4 separate regions of the Homo sapiens genome follow, and all the other regions are linked to region 2. Evidence: promoter capture Hi-C in 16 types of primary human blood cells and fetal thymus (Javierre and others, 2016). All regions are on one chromosome and are shown on one strand. The core of a region is centred on a gene start or on the middle of the fragment in contact, and the rest is flanking DNA. Distances in the headings are between cores, read along the strand shown.

Region 1 (3,351 bases), core at 227-2,726, 180 kb after region 2:
GGGTTTTCTAAATATAGAATCATGTTGTCTGCAAACAGGGATAGTTTGACTTTTTTACTTCCTTTCTTCCTATTTGTATGCCCTTTTTTCTTTCTTTTGCCTGATTGCTCTGGCTAGAACTTCCAATAATATGTTGAATAGGACTAGTGAGCAAAGGCATCCTTGTTTTGTGCTGGCTTTCAAGGGGAATGCTTTTGCCCATCAAGTATGATGTTGGCTGTGGGTTTGTTGTAGATGGCTCTTATTATTTTGAGGTATGTTCCTTCAATACCTAGTTTATTGAGAATTTTTAACATAAAGGGGTGTTGACTTTTATTAAAGCCTTCTCTTCATCTATTGAGATAATCATGTGGTTTTTGTCTTTAGTTCTGTTTATGTGATGAATCATATTTATTGATTTGCATATGTTGAACCAACTTTGCACCCCGGGAATGAAGCCTACCTGATCATGGTGGATTAGATTTTTGATGTGCTGCTGGATTTGGTTTGCAGGTAGTGTGTTGAGGATTTTTGCATTAGTGTTCATCAAGAATATTGGCCTGAAATTTTCTTTTTTTGTTAAGCTGACACTTTTTAGTTTGATGCCACCCCATTTGTCTGGTTTGCTTTTGTTGCCTGTGCTTTTGGGGTCATATCCAAAAAATCATTTCTCAGAAGCTTGATTGTCAAGAAGCTTTTCCCTTTGTTTTCTTCTAGTAGTTTTACAGTTTCAGGTCTTGTGTTTAAGTCTTTAATCCATTTTGAGTTGATTTTGTATATGGTTTGGGATAAAGGTCTAATTTAATCCTTTTGAATATGAATATCCAGTTCTCCCCACACCATTTGTTGAAGAGAATGTCCTTTCTCCTTTGCATATTCTTGGCACCTTTATTGAAGATCAATTGACCATAAATGCATAGTTTTATTTCTAGCCTCCCTGTTCTGTTCCATTGGTTGATGTGTCTGTTTTTATGCCACCACCTTGCTGTTATGCTTACTAGAGCTTTCTTGACACAGTATGTTTTGAGATCAGGAATTATGATGCCTCCAGTATTTTTTTTCTTGAGGATTGCTTTGGCTATTTAGGGTCTTCTGTGGTTCTACATAAATTTTAGTTTTTTTTCTATTTTTGTAAAAAAATGCCATTGGGATTTTGATAAGGATTGTACTGAATCAGAAGATTGCATTAATACTCCAGTCCATGAACATAGGATATCTTTCCATTTATTTTTGTCTTGTTTAACTTCCTTAATCAATGTTTTATAGTTTTAGTGTACATGTTTTTCACCTCTCTGGTTAAATTTAAGCTTAGGTATTTTTTTTGATGCTATTGTAAATGAGATTGTTTCTTGATTTCTTTTTCAGATAGTTCATTGTTAGTGTATAGAAGCACTATTGATTTTTCACATTGATTTTGTAACCTGTAACTTTACTGAATTTATTCATTAGTTCTAGTAGTTCTTTTTTGGTGGAGTTTTTAGGGTTTTTTAAAAATATATTTATATATATATGTTTTTATATATATATCATTTTAAGTGTAAACAGAGACAAATTTCCTTTTTTATATCTGATTTGGGTCTCTTTCATTTATTTTTCTTGCCTAATTGCTGTGACCAGGACTTCCAGTACTATGTTACATAGAAGTAGTGAGAGTGAGCATTCTTGCCTTTTTCCTCATTTTAGTGGTAAAGCTTTCAATTTTTCACCATTGAGTATGATGTTTGTTGTGGGCTTGTCGTATATGGCCTTTATCATATTGAGGTACATTCCTTCTGTAGCGAATTTATTGAGAGTTTTTATTATAAAAGAATGTTGAATTTTGTCAAATGCTTTTTTTTGCGTATATTGAGATGATCATGTGGTTTTAGTCCTTCATTCTGTTAATGTGATATGCCACATTAATTGATTTGCATATGTGGAATCATCCTTGCATCTCGCATCCCAGGGATAAATCACACTTGATCATGGTTATTATCTTTTTATCTTTTTTTTTTTTTTTTTTAACAGAGTCTCTCTGTGTTGCCCAGGCTGGAGTGCAGTGGCGTTATCTCGGCTCACTGCAAGCTCCACCTCCCAGGTTCACGCCATTCTCCTGCCTCAGCCTCTTGAGTAGCTGGGACTATAGGCGCCCGCCACCATGCCCTGCTAATTTTTTTTTTTTTGTATTTTTAGTAGAGATGGGGTTTCACCATGATTTCCAGGTTGGTCTCGAACTCCTGACCTCAGGTGATCCACACGCCCTGGCCTCCCAAAATGCTGGGATTACAGGCATGAGCCACTGCATCTGGCCGGTTATATGACTTTATATGTTTGTCAAAACTCATAAAACTATGTACTAAAAGGCTGAATTTTATTGTATGTAAACTCTTCCCCAATAAATCTGACCTAAAAAACAATCAAATTCTGTTGACTTTAGGATAAAGTATTCAGTTATCAATGAGTCTTCCCTCAATGGTGTATGAGGCAGAAATCACGTTGCAGAGCCGTGGCATGATGTCCCCTGCACATTCCCTTTCTAGAACTTGTCCCAGTTTGAAATTGCTATACACATCTCCCTGTTAATCCATTGATTACTCTCCTCTCCTCCACCTGGCTGCACTGAGGGCCCTGGAAGGCACTGTATCTCTATTACCCAGCTGTGTGCTTAGCAATAAGAAACACTTGTTTGTTGAATGAATGAATAAATGAATGAATGAATGTATGATTAAATAGGTGAATTTTATGGATGAATTCTACATATTGACCTTGAAGATATTTCTTAATATCACAACAAATATTCAAATAACAAATAGTTATTTTTAATCTAAGCCAGTTATTAGCCTTATTAGTCAGAGTGCCAACTTTGACTTTTTACCTCCCTAAAGATTCCCAATATATTGAAAGGGTGGTATTCTGTCTTCTCTTCTAGAATTTTCTATGTATTTTCCAACCCAAATTCTTCTTTGCTGCCTTAATAATCTCCCAGGAATACCACCTGGAGTAAATCCTCACTCACTGCCCATTGACTCTACTATAGGCTTATTTTTTATCTTTTAAATTATTAAAAAATATATATATACACTTAGAGATTGGGATCTTGCTCTGTTGCCCAAGCTGGAGTGCAGTGGTGACAAAGCTCACTGCAGCCTTAAACTCCTTGGCTCAAGGGATCCTCCCACTTCAGCCCCCCGAGGAGCTGGGATTACAGGCAGAAACCATTCTGCCAGGCTTATTATATAGGTTCCTTTAGCTGGCAGCACATTCAAGTGATAATTTATCATGAACCATATAGAAGATCACATCTGCTCCAGAGGGATTCCCCCAGCAGGCATAACTTTTCTTCAGAGAGAGAAAACCTCCACATCTGCTTTAGGTGGGAAGAGGTGTGTGATT
Region 2 (3,463 bases), core at 743-3,242:
CGGGCCCCGAGGCCCAGCTAATTTTTTTTTTCCCCCAAATTTTTAGTAGAAAGGAGGTCTCTATGCTGCCCAGGCTGGTCTTGAACTCCTGGCCTGAAGCGATCCTCCTGCTTGGATTCCTGAAGTGCGAGATTACAGGTGTGAGCCACCATACCTCAACACTGTATTTTCAACCCGCTCTTCGTTCAATCTCCAAAGGTGGGACATGCGGATATGGAGGGCCGATTGTGTATGGTTGGACCATACACATATAAATGGCTTTAACCTTTACTGACTCTCACAGAACCCTCAGTGCAGTGGCGTGATCTCAGCTCACTGCAAGCTCCACCTCCCGGGTTCACACCATTCTCCTGCCTCAGCCTCCCGAGTAGCTGGGACTACAGGGGCCCGCCACCACGCCCGGCTAATTGTTTTGTATTTTTTTTTAGTAGAGACGGAGTTTCATCGTGTTAGCCAGAATAGTCTCGATCTTCTGACCTCGTGATCCACCCGCCTAGGCCTCCCAAAGTGCTGGGATTACAGGCGTGAACCACCGCACCCGGCCTTTTTATTTTTTTTGAGATGGAGTCTGGCTCTTGGTCCCCAGGCTGGAGTGCAATGGCGGGATCTCGGCTCACTGCAACCTCCGCCTCCCGGGTTCAAGCGATTCTCCTGCCTCAGCCTCCCGAGTAGCTGGGACTACAGGTGCGTGCCACCACGCCCGGCTAAATTTTGTATTTTTAGTAGAGACGGAGTTTCACGGTGTTAGCCAGGATGGTCTCGATCTCCGCCCGCCTCGGCCTCTCAAAGTGCTGAGATTACAGGCGTGAGCCACCACGCCCCGCCCAACTCGTCCTTTCTTTAGACTTTATCCTGTGAGGGTGAATTATGGCCTGTCCCTGGACACACCCGTTCTGCTTTCCCCGCACCAACTGTATCCCAAATAGGGGAAGTAGTCTCTTCAACCTTCAAAAATGGGGCACTGGCTGGGCACGGTGGCTCACGCCTGTAACCCTAGCACTTTGGGAGGCCGAGGCGGGCGGATCACCTGAGGTCAGGAGTTCGAGACCAGCCTGGCCAACAGGGTGAAGCCCTCTCTCTACTAAAAATACAAAAAATAGCCGGGCGTGGTGGCGCGCGATTGTAATCCCAGCTATTCAGGAGGCTGAGGCAGGAGAATCGCTTGAACCCGGGAGGCGGAGGCTGCAGTGAGCCGAGATCGCGTCACTGCACTCCAGCCTGGGCGACAGAGCGAGACTCCATCTCAAAAAAAAAAAAGGGGGGGGGGCGGGGAGCGACATTAGGCCAGCGCGAGTGTGCGGCTCCAGGCCACCAGGGCGGCCGCTCTGGCTCTGCCCTGTTAAAGTGGGGGCAGCGCCCGCTGAAAATTGGCACATCTTGGCTTCCGCAGGTACCAGGGCCTTTAAAAAGGTTCAGCTGGCCGGGCACGGTGGCTCACGCCTATAATCCCAGCACTTTGGGAGGTTGAGGCTGGCAGATCACGAGGTCAAGAGATCAAGACTATCCTGGACAACATGGTGAAACCCCGTCTCTACTAAAAATACAAAAATTAGATGGGCGTGGTGGCGCGCGCCTGCAGTCCCAGCTACCCGGGAGGCTGAGGCAGAGGAATCGCTTGAACCCGGAGGCGGAGGTTGCAGTGAGCCGAGATCGCGCCTCTGCACTCCAGCCTGGGCGACAGAGCATGATTCCGTCTCAAAATAAATAAATAAATAAATAAATAAATAAATTAAAAAAAGGTTGAGTTGAGTCATCGCATGAGGTAAGTCTGTCTCCTCTCCTCACCCATAGGCTGCAGCCACAGGTCCGCACGGAAAACCAGGAGCTCCAAGACTGCCGCACACTCAACATCCAACTCGCGGGGCCGCGGGGACGGCCACAGAAGCCAATCGGCTCCTGCTACATCACAGACCCCGCCCTCAAACCTTGAGGAGCCCGCCCCACGCACTGCTGACCCGGAGCCAAAAGAACTGCGTGGCGTCCGATTCTGGCGTCACTTCCCTTCCCGCGATGGCGGCACAGGGAGCTGCTGCGGCGGTTGCGGCGGGGACTTCAGGGGTCGCGGGGGAGGGCGAGCCCGGGCCCGGGGAGAATGCGGCCGCTGAGGGGACCGCCCCATCCCCGGGCCGCGTCTCTCCGCCGACCCCGGCGCGCGGCGAGCCGGAAGTCACGGTGGAGATCGGAGAAACGTACCTGTGCCGGCGACCGGATAGCACCTGGCGTGAGGGCGGGGCCCAGGGCTGGGGGCGGGGCGGAGCTCAGGGCCAGGGGGTGGGGCGGGGCCTGAGGACAGGCTGTCAGTGAGGCCAAGATCCGGGGGCTGGGAGTGGAGAGGAGGAGGGGCGGGGCTTGAGGAAAGAACGCCGCGTTCCGGGCGCTGAGAAACCAGCCGGGTTGTGGGAGGCTGTTGACCTTGAATTATGCCGAGCGACGCCTACAAACCCACCGCTCAGGCCTTCACCAGGATTGTTCCCATTCCACTTCCTTGCCCAGTCTTAGGCTTCATTCCTTTTTCTTGCTAACGCTGCTTCCTCACCCTCTCTTGTCTCTGCGTCTTCTTTTTCCATTTGTCCCTGGCAGCCATCCGCAGAGAGAAGACCTTCCAGAAACAACAGGCTTCCCTTTCCTAAAGTTCTGCTGCCTTCTCTCATTTTCAAAATTAACCCCAAACTCCTTAGGGTGGCATTCATTTTTGTGACCTCTCCAGTTTCTAGCCAACACTAGGAAAGGGCATTGCCAGGCCAGAACACACTGTGCCCTCTGAAGACCACACGCCCTTTACCACCTGTGCCCTTTGCTTGGAATGCTTTTTCTTCCCTTTCTCCTTGTTTGCCTGCCTAGCTCCTACTCATCCTCTTAGCTTCATATCCTTTGTGATGTCATCCTTGATTCCCCTTCAGGCAAAGTGAGTGGTTCCCTTCTCTATGTTCCTGCAACATTTTTTTCCTACCTCAGTCATAGTTTTTGTAACATTATGTTGTAATTTTCTCTCTCTGTCTTCCTCCATCATACTGGGAACTTCTGGAGGGCAGCACTTCTTGTGATTCATCACTGTGTCCTCTGTACCCGGCAACAACACAGCATAGGGCCAGACACGTAGTGGTTGCCTTACTCATTTATTGAATGCTCTGCTAATTGTCAGGTGCGCTGCTAAAAATTTTGGAGGCATTAATTCACCTTCTAAGGTTGGTACTATTATCCCTTTTGTCTTTTTTTTTTTTTTTTTTTTTGAGACAGGATCTCGCTCTGTCACCCAGGTGGGATTGCCGTGGCACGATGACAGCTCACTGAAGCCTAGACCTTCTAGGCTCAAGTGATCCTCCCACCTCACCCTCTCAGAGTGTTGGGATTACTGGCATGAGCCACTGTGCCCAGCTGTTATCCCTTTTCACAGATGAAGAGACTGAGGCTCAGAAAGATGGAATAACTTGCTCAGTTACACATAGCTAGGAAGTAGGGAGCT
Region 3 (3,357 bases), core at 203-2,702, 180 kb before region 2:
GATTACACCACACTTGGACTTTTGTGTTTATTTTTAAGATTAACATATTTATGTGAAACAATACTGGGGTTTTTTTTTTTGTTTTTTTTTTGAGACGGAGTCTCGCTCTGTCGCCCAGGCTGGAGTGCAGTGGCACGATCTCGGCTCACTGCAAGCTCCACCTCCCAGATTCACGCCATTCTCCTGCCTCAGCCTCCCGAGTATCTGGGACTACAGGCGCCCTCCACCACGCCCAGCTAATTTTTTGTATTTTTTTTTTAGTAGAGACGGGGTTTCACTGTGTTAGCCTGGATGGTCTTGATCTCCTGACCTAGTGATCCACCCACCTCGGCCTCCCAAAGTGCTGGGATTACACGCATGAGCCACCGCGCCCGGCAACAATACTGGTTTTAAGTGCAAAGAGGAGATGATTCAAAGATAAATCATGTTACGCAGATAAGTGAACAGCAAATACTGGAGCTTGGGAATCACTGCCCCAGCCCAGGGCTTCTACAAGGAAAAGCCTTTCAGAGTCATGAGGGCAGGGAGGGAGGCAAGAGAAAGCTTCCCTTGGGAGGCCAAGGGAAGGATCGCTTGAGCTCAGGAGTTCAAAACCAGCCTGGACAACCTTGTCTCTACTAAAAATAAAAAAATAGGCCAGGCACAGTGGCTCACGCCTGTAATCCCAGCACTATGGGAGGCCAAAGTGGGCAGATCACCTGAGGTCAGGATTTCGAGACCAGCCTGGCCAACATGGAGAAACCCTATCTCTACTAAAAATACAAAAAATTAGCCGGGCGTGGTGGCGCATGCCTGTAATCCCAGCTACTCTGGAGGCTGAGGCGGGAGAATCGCTTGAACTTGGGAGATGGTGGTTTCAGTGAGCCAAGATCACACCATTGCACTCCAGCCTGGGCAACAAGAGCGAAACTCTGTCTCAAAAAAAAAAAAAAAGTCAGGTGTGGTGGCATGTGCCTGTAGTCCCAGCTACTCAGGAGGCTGAGGTAGGAGGATGGCTTGAGCCCAGGAGTTTAAGGTTGCAGTGAGCTGTGATCGCAGTACTGCACCCCAGCCTGGGTGACTAAGCAAGACACTGTCTCAAGAAAAAAAAAAAAAAGCTTCCTGGGCCTGCTGCTTCTGACACAGTCTATTGAGTCTCAGAGGCATTTCTGGACATGCCTTTGAGAACTACTGAACTCAGAGAAGAGAGTTCTCAAACTGAGTCCAAAGGAACTTCAGTGTACTACAAAATGTTACTAGATTACCTTGGGAGAGGTGGGGAAGGATTCCTGGGGAAGTACGTTTGAGAGGCCCTTCTCCAGTTCACTGCATGTTTTTTGTTTGTTTGTTTGTTTGTTTGTTTTTGAGATGGAGTCTCTCACTGTTGCCCCAGCTGGTGTGCAGTGGTGCGATCTCGGCTCGCTGCAATCTCCGCCTCCCGGGTTCAAGTAATTCTCCTGCCTCAGCCTCCCGAGTAGCTAGGATTACAGGCGCCCGCCACCATGCCCAGCTAATTTTTTGTACTTTTAGTAGAGACAGGGTTTCACTAGTAGAACAGCCAGGCTGTTCTCGAATTCCTGACCTCATGATCCACCCACCTCGGCCTCCCAAAGTGCTGGGATTACAGGTGTGAGCCACTGCACCCAGCCCACTGCATGTTAGATAGTCTGTTGAGGCCTGTGGAGTGCTCGGGTTAGGAAACCTGTTTAATGTTGCTTAGGACTCGTTCATCTTTGTAGCTTCAATACTTGGGACCTATAACGCTTTCTATAATCAGAGTGAATAAATGAAATGCTGTAGATGAGGAGGTGGGGGAGAGTGGTCAGTGGAAGCTTTAAGTAGTTACTAGCTTGATTCATTCATTACAAATGGGCAGCTGGGTGCAGTAGCTCATGCCTGTAATCCCAGTGTTTTGGGAGGCCAAGGCAGGAGGATCGCTTGAGGCCAGGAGATCAAGACCAGCCTAGGCAACATAGTGAGACCCTGTCTCTACAAAAAAATTGTTTAAAAATTAGCCAGGCGTGGTGACATGTGCCTGTGGTCCCAGCTACTCAGGAGGCTGAGGTGGGAGGATTGCTTGAGCCCAGTAGGTTGAGGCTGCGGTGAGCCTGAGTCCAGCCTGGGTTACAGAGTGAGACCCTGTCTCAAAAAAAATTTTTTTTCAAAAAGTGGAAAACGCAAATCTGCCCTTGTGGAATTTACATTGTAGTTGGAGGAACACAGTAATGTAATAGGGAAGATATTAGGGCTGTAAGTCCAGCTGCGGGCAGCTGGCTGTCAAGATGGGACAGGTGTGGATCAGAAGCAGAGATGAGTAAAGGAGGCAAGGACCCATGAGCACCAGAACTCAGTCAGGAATCAAGAAGCCCAAGGGTGGCTGGAGACGACTGGATAACACCAGTCCCCTTGGCATGACATCAGGCAGCATGCGTGGCATTTGTGTATGTGTTGGGCAGCACACTTTCTATGCTGGGAGGCCCACAGCTGGGATGAGCCCATGTGACCTGACAGCTGCCCTGTGGGCAGGCAGAGTGGGGGGGCTATTGCCTTCAATCATAAACGAGGCTTCTGAGGCTCAGGGAGAGGAACAGACTTGCCCAGGGTCTCATTTCCAGTTAGTGATGGAGTTGGGTTCCAATCCCAGTGCTCTTGGCTGAGGTCAGGTGCTTCTTGCTACCCTGTTGTCTGTGTGGCCAGAAGAGAGCTGGGGTGCACCCTTGGAGCTGGGGAGCCTGGGAACTGTGGGCTGCTGAGAGCTGAGGGCTGAGGTCTCTGTCTCCCCCCTATGGCCGCCAGGTGCTATGACAAGCGTCTGTGGCCTCGAATGGACCTGAGCCGGCGGAAGTCACTGACCCCGCCCATGCTCAGTGGTGTGGTTCGCCGCCAGCCCCGTGCCCTGGACCTCAGCTGGACAGGTGTCTCCAAGAAGCAGCTCATGTGGCTTCTGAACCGACTACAAGGTAGGGTGTGTGGTACGGAGGACAGGGTGGGGACAGGGACAGGCCTGGGATGGAGTCCTCACAGCACCTGCTTCCTGACTGCCCCCTCTCCGCAGGCCTGCAGGAGCTGGTGCTCTCTGGCTGCTCCTGGCTCTCTGTCTCTGCCCTGGGCTCAGCCCCACTGCCAGCCCTGCGGCTCCTGGACCTCCGCTGGATCGAGGATGTTAAAGACTCCCAGCTCCGGGAGTTGCTGCTGCCTCCACCAGACACCAAACCAGGTGCAACCTCTGTTTGCTTTTCTGGAGAATGGGCTGGGCAAGGGTAGGGTAGGAGGCCTCTCAGGTCTCTTCTGACTCATGCTGGATGGTAAAGTATTTGAAGAAAGGAAAGAATACATGAGTTTGAATAGGAAGGCCCTGGTTGGGCATTATTCATTCAT
Region 4 (3,337 bases), core at 307-2,806, 220 kb after region 2:
GCAACTGTAATCTCAGCTACTTGGGAGGCTGAGGAAGGAGAATTGCTTTAACCTGGGAGGTAGAGGTTGCAGTGAGATATGATTGCATCACTGCACTCCAGCCTGGGCGACAGAGCAGGACTCCATCTTAAAAAAAAAAAAATAAATAAAATAAAATAAAATAAAGAGATGGCTCCAGGAAATACCGAGGAAGGGAAGGCTGCCAATAACAGGTGTATCACCCACAGAGAAGCTGCTGTGAGTTCCTGGAGCTTCACCCCACTGGGCAGTTCTCGGAGGCAGTGCAGAACACGCACCTCAGTATCACCCCACCCAGGGGAGAAGGCTGGAGCGCATAGACACCGATTCCACTTAGCTATTGGATGAGGGCTGCTCTTGGTGGGGAGAGTGTGTTAATTTCCTACCACTTCTGGCCTGCCCTGAGTGTGAGGAGAGTGGGCTCTAGTGGCCAGAGAAAGTGATACCAGTGCTGCTGGCTGGATGTTTGACAGGTGAACACAGCCCCTGACACGGTGCCTTTGGTTCAGGTCAGGGCACCAGGAGCACTTGCTGCCAAGGTGTGTGCAGGTGACATTTTGGTGGCTGCTTCCTCAGAGGGAGGATGCCCAGTGCCTGTCCCTCATACTTTGCAAACACAGTAAACACTAGCCTGGCCTGAACATACATCCTCTCTAATCCTCACACCAGTCCTTGGTATTTACATGAATTTCACTTATGAGGAAACCTAGGCTTAGATAGATCATACCAGTTGCCTGAGGTCATACAGCTGGGAAGGAATGGAGCTAGGAGTTAATCCCAGCTCTGCCTAGGTCTAAAGCTTTTCTCTTTTACTGTCCTGACAGCCTCAGAGGAATGGCCCCAGAACAGGCATGAGGGAGTGTGGGGAGAGGGTGGCTGTTATTTAACTGTTATGATATTGGGTTAAAGCATATGAAATTGATGACATGTTTTTGGACAAAAATGTTTCTTTCTTTTCTTTCTTTCTTTCTCTTTCTCTCTTTTCTTTCTCTCTCTCTTTCTTTCTCCTTCTTTCTTTCTTTCTCCTTCTTTCTTTCTTTCCCTTCCTTCCTTCCTTCCTTTCCTTCCTTCCTTCCTTCCTTCCTTCCTTCCTCCTTCCTTCCTTCCTTCCTTCCTCCTTCCTTCCTTCCTTCCTTCCTTTCTTTTTTCTTTCTTTCTTTCCTTCCTTCCTTCCTTCCTTCCTTCCTTCCTTCCTTCCTTCCTTCCTTCTTTCTTTCTTTCTTTCTTTCTTTCTTTCTTTCTTTCTTTCTTTCTTTCTTTCTTTCTTTCTTTCTTTCTTTCTTTCTTTTTTTTCATGGAGTCTTGTTCTGTCGCCCAGACTGGAGTACAGTAGTGTGATCTCAGCTCACTACAACCTCTCCCTCCCGGGTTCAAGTGATTATCTTGCCTCAGCCTCCTGAGTAGCTGGGATTACAGGCGTGCACCACAATGTCTGGCTAATTTTTTTTTTTTGTATTTTTGGTAGAGATGGGGTTCCACCATGTTGGCCAGGCTGGTCTTGAACTCCTGACCTCAGGTGATCCATCTGCCTTGGCCTCCCGAAATGCTGGGATTACAGGTGTGAGTCACTGTGCCCAGCCAAAAAATGGTAATTTCATGATCTTCATTGAAATACAAGAAAATCATGGCTTAGAGGGACACTTGTTTCACATGTGGCAGGAGGAGAGAGGGCTTACTCCTTAGGGAGGTGAAGGAAGGGTCCCCAAGGGAGGTGACACCTGACTGAAGCAGGGCCAGAAGATCTCCAGGCAGAAGGGAGGGCAGGGGAGGCTGGGAGAGTGGGCAGGGCTTGGGCATGAGTGCTTTGTAAGCCAGAGTGAGTAGTTCCAATTTCACTCAAAGTGAAGTGAGATGCCCTCAAAAGGTGGCTAATGAGACAATGGCCCTTTGTATCTGTGGGGGTGACACAAAACACGGTCACCTTTAGACGGTTCTTTGCTATTTCCTCTCCTGACTTAAATAAAGTCTGTTAAGAATTTCTGTGTTTCCTTATGTTGAAAGATAAAAGTCCTCAATATCTGCAGAAGTCCTGAATTGCTCCGGGAACAGAGAGAGTTCTGTACCTTTAGTCGCCTGTCCTTTCACCCTCCATGTCTGTAGTCGCCTGTCCTTGCAGCCTCCATGCTGGTCCTTGTAGCCTTCGTACCTAGTTGCTTGTCCTGGCAGCCTCCATACCTGTAGTTGCCTGTCCTTGCAGCCTCCGTGCCTGTAGCCGCCAGTCTTTGCAGGGCAGTTAAAGTCCTGTGAACTCAGAGTTCACCTCCGCGTCTTCAAATGAGAAGCTTGTGTTGAATTCAGCCAGATAGGAGCTTTATGATGGGTTAGAAAAGTCAATCATTTCAAGCGACAGATTTCCCTAGCATGACCACAAAGTGACTAATAAACAGGACCATAAATCTGGTGATAAGTGGCCAAGTCCAGGAACGTCTGCTTGCTTTTATTTTTGGGGATTTCTCACTTCAGAATAAATGAATCCCTTCAGTATCCACTCTCCTTTTCCTACTTAGAGTAGAATCTTAATTTGGGCCACCATGGGAGATGGTTACAATTCTGACTCCCAGTGAATGGTGCTTCCCGGCCCTACACCCTTGCAGTGTGACATTGCTGTCCCTGACATCACATGGTGCGGCCTGTCTACCTCTTTGAATCTGGGCTGGTCCCGTGGTTTGCTTTGATTAATAGAATACAGTAGGAGTGTGGTCGTGTGAGTTCTGGAGCCTAGACCTTTAGGAGCACAGCAGATCCTGCCCTGCACCCCTCGGAACACTGAGGTCACCACGCCGTGATCCATATGGCCCACTGGAGAAAGAGTGGACTCATGGAGGAGACAGCGGAGGCCACTGCCACTGTGCATGCATGAGGCTGCTGTGATCCTTCCATCCAGCTGTCCAACACCTGCAGCCACTGGAGAGTCCCACAGAACTGCCTGGATTGTCACCTCATGCAACTGTGAGAAATAATCAATTACTGATGTCTCAGTCCTGCGTGGTGGTTTGTTACGCTGCAATGGATATTGCGTATAGCCCCTTAGTTATAGGGTTCGTCTCCCCACCTCCTGTGCAGCTGGTGTGGCTGCCTGGCGAGGTTCTGGCTGATGGGATGTGAGCAGCAGTGAAGCGAGCAACTTCGGAGCCAGGTCCTTTGAGGGAAGAAGTGTCGTTTCTTTTCACCACCTTCCCGCTGGCTGGAGTGTCAGCATCACGGTGCACAATTTTGGACCCTGAAGATGAGTTTGACATCGAAGAATGCAAGAGTGGAACAGAGGAGGCTGGGTCCCGCCTCTGCGGAGGCACCATGTCAGCCCTGGACTCCATATTCT

What was found. The method cuts DNA at HindIII sites, captures the fragments that hold promoters and counts their contacts. A CHiCAGO score of 5 or more calls a contact.
Region 1: a fragment that was not itself captured here is called in contact with the fragment with the promoter of KAT8 in region 2 in 1 of 17 cell types (monocytes); the score reaches 5.8 in monocytes.
Region 3: a contact is called between a fragment that was not itself captured here and the fragment with the promoter of KAT8 in region 2, in 1 of 17 cell types (naive B cells). The highest score is 5.2, in naive B cells.
Region 4: a fragment that was not itself captured here is called in contact with the fragment with the promoter of KAT8 in region 2 in 2 of 17 cell types (monocytes and naive B cells); the score reaches 11.0 in monocytes.

The regions. Positions count from the first base shown.
Region 1 is chr16:31,294,144-31,297,494 of GRCh38, forward strand. All of the region lies in intron 12 of ITGAM (integrin subunit alpha M), which reads left to right. Among named protein-coding and RNA genes, the nearest start is that of ITGAM, 36 kb to the left of the region's middle. The HindIII fragment of the contact is 384 bases long and covers 1,285-1,668 here.
Region 2 is chr16:31,115,672-31,119,134 of GRCh38, forward strand. KAT8 (lysine acetyltransferase 8) reads left to right here and starts at 1,993. Exons shown (of 11, transcript NM_032188.3): 1 at 1,993-2,221. The coding sequence starts at 2,011. It also overlaps a transcript of BCKDK not described here. RefSeq lists silencers at 1,811-2,037, 1,937-2,286 and an enhancer at 2,457-2,576. The HindIII fragment of the contact is 10,033 bases long and covers 1-3,463 here.
Region 3 is chr16:30,939,341-30,942,697 of GRCh38, forward strand. FBXL19 (F-box and leucine rich repeat protein 19) reads left to right here. Exons shown (of 11, transcript NM_001382779.1): 8 at 2,776-2,939; 9 at 3,035-3,196. Among named protein-coding and RNA genes, the nearest start is that of ORAI3, 8.0 kb to the right of the region's middle. RefSeq lists a silencer at 2,670-2,799 and an enhancer at 3,224-3,357. The HindIII fragment of the contact is 714 bases long and covers 1,096-1,809 here.
Region 4 is chr16:31,333,446-31,336,782 of GRCh38, forward strand. No RefSeq gene overlaps it. Among named protein-coding and RNA genes, the nearest start is that of ITGAX, 20 kb to the right of the region's middle. The HindIII fragment of the contact is 1,483 bases long and covers 816-2,298 here.